3 separate regions of the Homo sapiens genome follow, and all the other regions are linked to region 2. The links are contacts of gene promoters, found by promoter capture Hi-C in blood cells and fetal thymus (Javierre and others, 2016). All regions are on one chromosome and are shown on one strand. The core of a region is centred on a gene start or on the middle of the fragment in contact, and the rest is flanking DNA. Distances in the headings are between cores, read along the strand shown. Region 1 overlaps KCNQ5 (potassium voltage-gated channel subfamily Q member 5). Region 2 holds the start of KCNQ5 (potassium voltage-gated channel subfamily Q member 5). Region 3 overlaps KCNQ5 (potassium voltage-gated channel subfamily Q member 5).

Region 1 (3,178 bases), core at 576-3,075, 270 kb after region 2:
AGGAAGGTTTTTCGGAAATGATGAAACCTGTATTGGGACTCAAAGATGCGGAAGTTGGCAAAATAAATAGGGTAGAATTGATAAAGGAAACAAGTTTACAAAAGCAGAGAACATAGCATTTTTGAGAAACTGCAAGTACTTTAATATGACGCTGTGCACAGAGGGCCTGTAATAATGAGGAGTAAATGAAGAACTAGCATACTAGTTTTATGCACTGTTAGACTTTATCTTGAAAAATGCAGAAAATCACTGAAGAACCTTAAGCGGACAAGAGTCATAGTCAAATTTTACTTTGAGACCAGTAATTCTGGTGGTGCTGAGCATAATGGCTTAGAAGGGATCCAGACTGCATTTGCGATGAACCATACATGTTTCTGGTCTCAGAATTGGGGGACCATAAAGTAGTGACAACGACTGTAAAACCAAATGTCAGTCCACATGACCTGGGCCTTACTGCTCTTTGTAATGCCCAGATAATAAATTTCCAGTTCCACTAAGTGTTAGTGAATACCCATCACTTGGCCAAATATAGGGGTGTCTTACTTTTCTGCCATGTTGCATTCCTGAGTAGTCCTTCATTCACATTTTTTAATTCATTTAATATTTATTGTGCAAACTACTACTTCCAAGCATACTTTTATAGGCACTGGGGATACAGCAGTGCGCAGAAGAAAAAATTCCCTATCTTCATGGAGCCCACAGTCTGTATGTACATCTATGTGTCTGTGTCTCTGTGTGTTTGTATATGTATAGGAAGATACAGACAATAAACATTCCACATAAGTAAGTTATATAGGACATTAAAGATTAGTAAATACTATGGAAAAATAAAAGAGAGTAAGGGAGATGGACAGTGCCTGAGCAAAGAAAAGATTACAATTTTTAGGTGTCATGAGGGAACCTTGCTAAGGAAATATCTGAACTAGGACTTGAATGCAGTAAGGAAAAAACCATGCAAATATCGAATGAACAGTATTCCAGGCAGCAGCAACAATAAAGTTAAAGACCCTGGAGTGTGATTGTGCTTGGTGTGTTGAAGAACATCAAGGAAGTCACTGTGGCTGGAACAGAATGAGGCAGAGGGGAAGCAGATTAGATAGGACCTTGGAGCCTCGGAAGCCACTGGGAAGCTTTGATCAGAGAGCTACTCAACAGCATATAACTGATGCATTTATAGTGTGTATTAGGAATAGCCTGAAATGTATTCAAGTAAAGACTTACATTCTCCCTTCACCTTCCACCCTCCTTTCTTGCCATCTCTGATTATTGAAGGTATAAAATGAAGCAGTACCACCAAGGCCATGGTAAGAGAAACAAACTCACCTTGACTCAGCATCTACTATGTGCCAAGCGCCATGCTAGAAACTATAGTTTTATCTCAATTCAGCAGCAAAATCAGTCTATCAGGTTTCAGTGGCACAAAGAAGAGAACACAGAAATATTTTAGTCAATTACCAAATGGTAAGCTACAATTTTTTAAATAAGTCCCCCCTGCATAAAGAAAAGATAAATTTTTAAGTTGATGGATTTCTGAATTACTCTGATTTGATCATTAGACATTATATGAATATATCAAAATATTGCATGTACCTAGAAAACATGTACATCCACTATGTATCAATAATAAATTTTTAAAAGCCCCCAAGCCTTCTTGGACATTTGCTAAGGGCAGTGTGGCTGTTTGCAGCCCTATATGCAGAAACCTCCATGAATATGTAGGGTACAAGGCAGAGAGAACTGAATTCAGTCAGAGCTGAATGGTGCTTGGAAGGTGCCCAGCCTCCCAAGAAGATGTCTATTTACCCTCAGCGAGCAGTCACAGTGCCCTCTGCCCAGGAGGGCAGGATTAGCTTTGAAGCAGGGTTGTTTGTTTCTCTTTTTAGAAAAGCTCTGTTGAAACATAATTGATATATTTAAAATTGCATATATTTAATATATACATTTTGATGGGTTTGGACATATGTACATATTTGTGATACCATCACCATAATCAGCATACTAAGCATATTCATCACCTGTCAAAATTACCTTGTGTTCTTTTGTGGTTTTGTTTTGCTTTGTGATAAGAGCAAGTAACATGAGCTCTATCCTCTTAACATACTTTAAAGGGTACGATGCCATATTGTTAACTATAGGTACTATATTGTACAGCAGATCTCTAGAACTTACTCATCTGGTATGACTGAAACTGTATATAGGGTTTTTCATTTCTGTGGCAACTCTATACATGAAAGAGCTGTTTGTGGGGGAAGTTATTAGGTTGCATTAAAACAAGTCATTGAGAATAGCAGTGGGGTTGTGGTGTGTGGCAGTGGCTGCTGCTATGGGAGGTTGTGTGCCTAGTGGTCATGAATTGTGCCACCACTGGCACCATTTGAGAATGGATGGAATAGTAGGACACACCAGGATCAAAACCATCTTGCCGAGGTTCTTATTCTTGATCGAAATAGATTTGTATTTCATAAATTATCAGATAAAAACCTTTGTGTCTTAACTAAAAGTAAAGTGGAGGTCCCAGTGACAAGCTTTGCAAAAGCCCCACATCACATAAGCATATCATATCAGAAGACAGTAGAAAGAATTGTGAACATCAAGATTGACACCAAACATCTGGCCCTTGTAAAGAGAACATGTAGCCCTCCCAAGGGAGTTCCAGTAATTGGAATGGAATGAACTCTATCCAAGTATCTGCAAAACTCCTAAATCAGATTAACAAATTATTGTCCACTGTTGTGGAAGAATTTTGGGAAATGGGAAAGGTGCTGGAAGACTAGAGACAGACAAATTTTATTGTTGATTCTACTATGTTAGGCAATTTCAAGAGCCAACAAGCTTCATATTGATCAAAAGCAATATTCCAGAATGGATTTAATAGGTGGGTATATGAGTACTTTGAAAAGCAAGTGTCCTTGGGATCCTGTCTGTGCTCACCAATAACAAATCACATTACTCTTACTTTAATTCCTTGTTTGACAGATTTACTATGTCCATAATGCTAGTATTGCACAGTTAAATTCAGATTTCAGTAAAGTAGTTGACAAAATCTAACATGAAAGTCTTCAGAAAATGTTCATTTATTCAATTCTACACTTGAGTATGTGTAAATGGTTGGATGTGTAAATGGTTGGATGAACATACTCAAAAAGTGTCAATTCAGATATTCTAGAGAATTATCAAT
Region 2 (3,335 bases), core at 190-2,689:
AGGGGCGGAGACAGCTGCAAGAAGACTTTTGTCTTAGCATTGTTTTAGCCTTAGGAAAGGAAAAGGCCCGAAGGAATCCACCTTGCAACTATCTGCTATGTCTTTGTGGTGGAAGCTTAGTTTTGCCTTCAATTTAATTTGATGATTTTCTTTCATATTTGGGGAAGAGCCACTCTGTTGGAAGAAGTCCCCGAGCCTGGCACCCTTCAGTTTTCCCTATGCTGAATGTGAGATTTAAACTGCCTTTTCTTTGTAATACACTGTTTCTGAAGGCCAGAGGCTGCGGCCAGTGGCACCGTGGCCTCTCTCTCCGCCAAGGGCGCATAGGCTTTGGGCCACCCGGGTGCCAGGGGTGGTGGAAGACCCAGTCAGTTGTTCCTTGCAACAGGTCTCTAAGCTTGTATGTTACAACATAAGGTGGGTGGGGTCGGAACCCCGAAAAGCCGGCGTCCTGGACACCCCATCCTCCAGGTGTTCTTTCCCAGACACTGGGTCCTCGCCGCCGCTGCTGAACTTCTCAATCATATGACTTTCTCGGACTTAAATGGAAATTTCTTGACGGAGGGAACTGGGTTTGTTCTCCCAGGCTTCGCGCTGCAGTCAGGCAGAGCCCCGGGGCAGCTCGCTCACCGCGGAGGAGCCACTTTGGAGTTTTACGCCCTTTCCACACCCCACCCATGGACTGGAAAGGATGTTCAGTTACTCGCGAGCTTGTCTGATACTGGGATGGAAAGTCACAGTCCGCAGGCTGGAGTGAGGCGCGGGAAGATGCCTGGTCCTTGCCTCGCGGACTTGGCAGCCGCGTCCTGCGGGTCTGTCCACTGAACTGCTGAGGACTCGCCCGTGTGCGGGGACCCGAGTGCCACTTCCCGGAGCGTTACCTTGCGCTCCAGCCTCCAGGCTAGATAATACCTGGAAGGCAGGGCAGGGCTGTTCCCGCTCTCACCCCTTGCGGAAGGATGGCAGGATCCGGCGCAGCGACGTAGCAGCGGGAGGGCACAGCGACCTGCATCTCCAGTTTCTCCTCAGGACACAAGGCTGACTTCACCTTCCGGACAGCTGCAAAGCCCCTGCCAGAACCAAACCGAACTCGCGCCTCGGAGAGGGGCTTCTGGGGCCGTTTCGCTGCAGGGCGTGGGGAGTGGAGAGAGGGAAGGGGAAGCCTGGGGCTGGGTGTGCGCGCGTGGGAGCGCGCCTCGGAGCGCCCCGCACTCCCCCACTCTATCCCCGGGGGCAGTTTGGGAAGGAGGGAGTGGTAGTCGCGGGAATGAGGGAGCAAGAGAAACCCTCTCAAAGTGACGCCCCAAACAGGTCCGGATTTAGAATTCGAAGCTAAAGGCTGTTAGAAATTGGGACTCCTCGGCCTCCTCTGCAGCCCCTCCTTTCCCGCCCCGAAGCCCGGGCGGTTTGCTGGCTGCCTGCTTCCCCGCCCCCGGCTCAGAGGTCTCTGGCTGGCGGGCGCCCCGTCGGCCGCCGGCTTCCTCCTTGAAACCCGCCGGCGCACATGAGGCCGCTGCCCCCGCCGCAGGCGCTGGCGGCCCCCTCGCGGTGCCCGTGGTGATGCCATGCCCCGCCACCACGCGGGAGGAGAGGAGGGCGGCGCCGCCGGGCTCTGGGTGAAGAGCGGCGCAGCGGCGGCGGCGGCGGGCGGGGGGCGCTTGGGCAGCGGCATGAAGGATGTGGAGTCCGGCCGGGGCAGGGTGCTGCTGAACTCGGCAGCCGCCAGGGGCGACGGCCTGCTACTGCTGGGCACCCGCGCGGCCACGCTCGGTGGCGGCGGCGGTGGCCTGAGGGAGAGCCGCCGGGGCAAGCAGGGGGCCCGGATGAGCCTGCTGGGGAAGCCGCTCTCTTACACGAGTAGCCAGAGCTGCCGGCGCAACGTCAAGTACCGGCGGGTGCAGAACTACCTGTACAACGTGCTGGAGAGACCCCGCGGCTGGGCGTTCATCTACCACGCTTTCGTGTGAGTACCCGCGCCCCCTGCTATGCCCGCTGCAGGGGACCACTGTCCCTGGCCCCCTGGGGCGTGCTCCGCGCTCGCGCCCTTGGGCCCCCGCGCGCGTGCACACGTGGTGGCTTTTATTTCTTCGCACGTGTTCGTGGTCTTCCTTCTGGAGCCTCTCCCCTCCCCCAGCCCCACTTCTCTCATCTCTACAGCTTGAACCTTTTCCCCGAGGACACCCAATGAACTGCCCGGTAGCTTCAGGCTCCCGGGGCGAGAGCCAGGCAGACGCGGGACTTAGGCTGCGCGGATAATTGGGAGCAATTAGGTCCCAAGATACGTAAACTTCAACCGAACGGGGCGCCCGGGAGCTAGGGAATGCAAAGGGAGGACAGGCGCCCGTGTGAGGCTTGAGAGTATACTGGAGAGGTTAGGAGGTGATGGCGGGGTAGGACGGGGAGAAGTGAGGGGGCATCGAGGGCTAGGTCCTCAGTCCTAGGGGCGGAGTAGGGGAAGCTGCTACTTGGAGAGAGCTGCTAGGTTTTAAGCGCGCCCGGAAACACGCCTCGCCACCACCCAGCCACCACCAACGGAAAATCTGTCAGTGCATGTAGCCCTTCCTGCCACGGAGAAGGTGGCCAAGGTCTAGAGGAGGCCAGCAGGCCAGGCGAAGCAACGCTCCCGCGCTGCAGGGGGCGGGGAGGCAGCGGGGAACCTGGGGCGCAGGAACGCGGGCGGAGGTGCGATAGCAGAAGCGCAAATGGGTCGCCTCTGACAGAGATCGGGCAGTGGGTTAAGTCCCCGTTTGTGGCGCGGAGTCAAAGAGTGTGTGTGTGTGTGTGTGTGTGTGTGTGTGTGTGTAGTAAGCCTTCTCCATCTAGCAGAGAATGCTTAATGAGAAAATGATTGGAAGCAAATGTTTATTTTTCCCTTAGGCATTTAAAACCTTTCAGTGGCTTTAAAGTTTACTACTGTTTTTCCCACAAAGTCCATTCATTCAGTCTCCTATTAGAGTTACGTTTATCTGGGCATTTTAAGGTTGTTTTTATAATGTTACCTCGTGTCTAATTCTTTTTTTCTTCCTCTTCTCCTTTTGCTTCCTCTTTTTTTAGTATTATTATTTCTGCTTCTTTTTTGTTAAGATGAAATATAAAGACATCAACCTTAGAAGACCAGTAGAGAAAGTTGCAGATACTCGCTGATACATTCCTTGTTTCCTAGTAAAATAAGTTTTGAGCACACGGACTAGGTTTCTTTTAGAAATAAGTTATGTCATCCATACATAGCTCTCTCCTGGGATGCAGAATTAGCATCAACACCAGAAACGTGTTTTGAAATAACATGGAAGAAGGGCTGGTTTTGTAACTAGGTGAACCTGGAATTCAACCACATA
Region 3 (3,478 bases), core at 322-2,821, 290 kb after region 2:
CTAAACCTTTTCAATTATAGTAACTCTTATAGAATGGAAAGGTAGGGGGGTGTGTGTGTGTGTGTGTGTGTGTGTGTGTGTGTGTGTGTGTGGCTGATAAATTATTGACTTCTGTGTACTATTCTTTACCCATACTTTATCACTTCTTACCTGGACCTCCTTCTCTTCTAACTCAAATACCCTTGCACTCTAAATTTTGTTGCTGTGTCTCTGGATAACTACATAAAGAAGAAACCGAAAGAGGATAAAAGTGAACATAGGTATCAATTTATATATAAAGAGGGAAGCATGAATCTGACTTGGTACTCACTCTATGAGCAGCACGGAAACAGGTATAGGGATTTATCAGCTTCATATCAGCTGACCACCACAAGAACCCATAAATGGAAGATACATGTTGTTTTAGACACTTGCAAGGGAGGATAAGTGAAAGAGAGGCCTGAGCAAAGAAGCTCACACACAGGGCCTGTGCCTATGACTCCAGATGAAGCCCAGGTCAGGCTGTGAACAGCTCTGTTAGCTATACTAACCAAGAAGTTTTTAACTGTATCCCAAGGGCAATGGAAAGCCGATGAAGGCTTTACAGCAAGAAAATGACAAGACGAGATTTATGTTTTGGAAGAATCCTCCTGGCTTAAATGTACGGAATGGAGAAAGAGTGGTGCAAAGGACAGAATGTTTATGACACCCAACCCCAAATTTATGTTGAAATCCTAACTCCCAATGTGATGGTATTAAGAGATTGGGCCTTTGGAAGGTAATTAAGCCATTAGGGTGGAGCCCTGATGAATGTTATTAATGTCCTTATGAAAAGAGGCCAGAGAGCTAGCTAGCCTCTCTTTCCGCCATGTGAGGTTACAATAAGAAGTTGGTAGTCTGCAACCCGGAAGGGGGCCTCACCAGAACCCCACCATTCTGACACCCTGATCTTAGATTTTCATCCTCTAGAACTGTGAGAAGTAAATTTCCATCATTTGCAAGCCACCAGTTTATGGTGGTTTGTTAAGTAGCCCAAACTGACTTAAGACAAGTGGGAAGGGGCTGAGTAGTAAGACCAATGCCTAGAATAGTGCTTGGCAAATAGGAGATGACAAATGAATAACTGTTGAGTATGTATGACAGCAGAAAATCCAATTATGATGCTGTTGAGAAATCCAGGCAGGAGAAGGCATCACTGGGGCCAGCATGGTAGCTGTCAGTGAGTGTGCATTAGGATTAAGTGTTTAATGCAAGTGTGCAGAACTAAGAACATCCTATGTTTTTATGGTGTGTCCAAATCCGGAGTAAAGACAAAGTTTTTTATTTTGTTTGCCAAGATAGCATTTTCCTTTTAGCAGTTTTTCTTCTTTAAAGATATTGTACTCTTTCACCACTAAAGTTGCATTACCTCTGAACTGGCAGTTTTGCTGATGGCTTCTGTGGTCTGGAGGCTTGCCCATTTATTTTCTGATTTCCCCTTTGGCAGTGCACATTTCTGCTCTCATTCTTCACTGCAAGCTTCAAATATATAAGCGTTCTAGTTACTAACAACCAAGAGACAAAGAGATTGGGGGATAAAAGTACAAGAGCAAGCAGATTCATACCTGATGAGTTATTGGAGTGTTTCCCTTAATCAATGCCATTGTCATCCCAAATGTTGGCAGATCAAGCTTGGATAGGATCCAGTATACTCACTGTCACTGAAAATAGTTAATTACTTGGAGGGCATTATGTGTGGTGGTAGCACAGGGCTATGTACATATAGGTAAATCAAAAAAAAACTTAATGGGCATATTAATTCATAACTTTTTCGTAGTAAGCATCGATGGATTAGATCTGTTTACTGAATTTATAGATACTTCCACTAGAGAATAAAGCTTTTCACCTTCTTGTTAATCCAGGGTCCTCCTTGCTTAGTGTCAGAGCTGTTTGTGATTTACCAGCACTGACAACTACTGTTTTCCTTTTTGGTTCATTTATCAGAGAGGTTTCTAGCCTTGTGTAATGCAAAATGCTCAGGCTTTGTTACCATACTAATTTGGGTTTAAATTCAAGTCATGGGATATTTTAGCTTGGTGACCATGGGCAAATTGTCAAATTTTTCTGAATCTGGCATTCTCCTAGTATAATAATCACAATCCCAAAGAAGTGCTTGATGAGTTTCATTTGATTATTTATTTTCTTTTAAGTCTAGCACAATGTTAGACACATAAAAGGAATGAATCTTCATGACCGTTGTATCAAATAAAAAAGTTCTCCAATGCTATCTTTGTTGTATTTAAAAACATTAGATAGGCAGAAATATTTTTAAATAGATGCTCAGAGATAATCACAATGGTGTTATTTGAATTCTATATTATTACTTGGAAGACTTTATTAACTTCCTTTAAAAGGACATGGGGACCTTTCAGAGAGTGGAAGGTGGGAGATGGGAGAGGATCAGGAGAAATAATTAATGGGTACTAGTCTTAATACTTGGGTTATGAAATAATCTGTACAACAATCCCCCATGACACAAATTTACCTATGTAACAAACCTGCACATGTACCCCTGAACTTAAAATGAAAGTTTTTTTAATGGTGCATACTTCTGCATTCTCATTTATGATATATACATTAAGCCTAATTTAATTTAGATAAAAATAATAACTCAAAATATTTGGGATAATAGCTTGAAATTTTAGGTGTATCTTTCCAATTTCTATTTTTTCACCACAAGTAGATTTCAGTAAGATTTTAATCAATGGCAGTGTTGATGCTAAACAAGACTAGGGAACTCTCAAGTTAGCCCTTGTGATAAAATTACAGAAATTCAGACCTAAAATACATCTTCAAGGCCACTAGATCATCATGAGAGTTTACGGTAGTAAGTGGCACCATGTCAACGTAACTACTCCCTAGAGCAGTGGTTCCCATTTGTATTCTGAGGACCAATGGGAGACTTTGAGTTGTGGCATGGGGTGTGTGAGTCCTGGGTCCACTCTTAACTGTAGAAAATCAGTATTATGTATCCTACATATGTATGCAGCTGCTTTTCAAAAGTATACAGACACTATTGTGATTAGAAAAATACAAATTCATTCCAAGGCATTACCACATTTCAGTAGTGTTTTGTTATGGGTTTTCTTAACCAACAGTTGTGTAAAGTCTATCTGTTCTCATGTGAAATCTGTAGACATTTTAAACAGTGTAGGGGAAGGAAATATCTTCTCTTCCCATCTTAGAGTCACGGCTGAGGCCCCTGTAAGAAAAGACAGATTAACAAGGAAAGCTTACAGATTCGTTTAATGTAAGTTTTCATGACATGAGAGCCTTCATAAAGAAATGAAACAGGTAAAGTTGTGTATTTTTATGCTTAGGTTTGATAAAGAGTGGACAGTCCTGAGAAATATGATTGGAGGACAAAAGGGAATGACCTAATGGTAACAAACTGGGGGAACTTAACAAGGCGTGTTTGTTCAGATTCTTCTCTGGGTCTGTGTGTCATCAAAGATAAGGA

What was found. The method cuts DNA at HindIII sites, captures the fragments that hold promoters and counts their contacts. A CHiCAGO score of 5 or more calls a contact.
Region 1: a contact is called between a fragment that was not itself captured here and the fragment with the promoter of KCNQ5 in region 2, in 1 of 17 cell types (megakaryocytes). The highest score is 5.4, in megakaryocytes.
Region 3: a contact is called between a fragment that was not itself captured here and the fragment with the promoter of KCNQ5 in region 2, in 1 of 17 cell types (erythroblasts). The highest score is 5.2, in erythroblasts.

Annotation. Positions count from the first base shown.
Region 1 is chr6:72,888,227-72,891,404 of GRCh38, forward strand. The region is part of intron 1 of KCNQ5 (potassium voltage-gated channel subfamily Q member 5); the gene reads left to right. Among named protein-coding and RNA genes, the nearest start is that of MIR4282, 78 kb to the right of the region's middle. The HindIII fragment of the contact is 1,395 bases long and covers 1,129-2,523 here.
Region 2 is chr6:72,620,625-72,623,959 of GRCh38, forward strand. KCNQ5 (potassium voltage-gated channel subfamily Q member 5) reads left to right here and starts at 1,440. Exons shown (of 14, transcript NM_019842.4): 1 at 1,440-1,963. The coding sequence starts at 1,566. It overlaps KCNQ5-DT (KCNQ5 divergent transcript), which reads right to left and starts at 2,055. Exons shown (of 3, transcript NR_186827.1): 1 at 1,908-2,055. RefSeq lists enhancers at 1-14, 2,125-3,076 and silencers at 1,435-1,694, 2,725-2,774. The HindIII fragment of the contact is 6,363 bases long and covers 396-3,335 here.
Region 3 is chr6:72,910,515-72,913,992 of GRCh38, forward strand. All of the region lies in intron 1 of KCNQ5 (potassium voltage-gated channel subfamily Q member 5), which reads left to right. Among named protein-coding and RNA genes, the nearest start is that of MIR4282, 55 kb to the right of the region's middle. The HindIII fragment of the contact is 152 bases long and covers 1,496-1,647 here.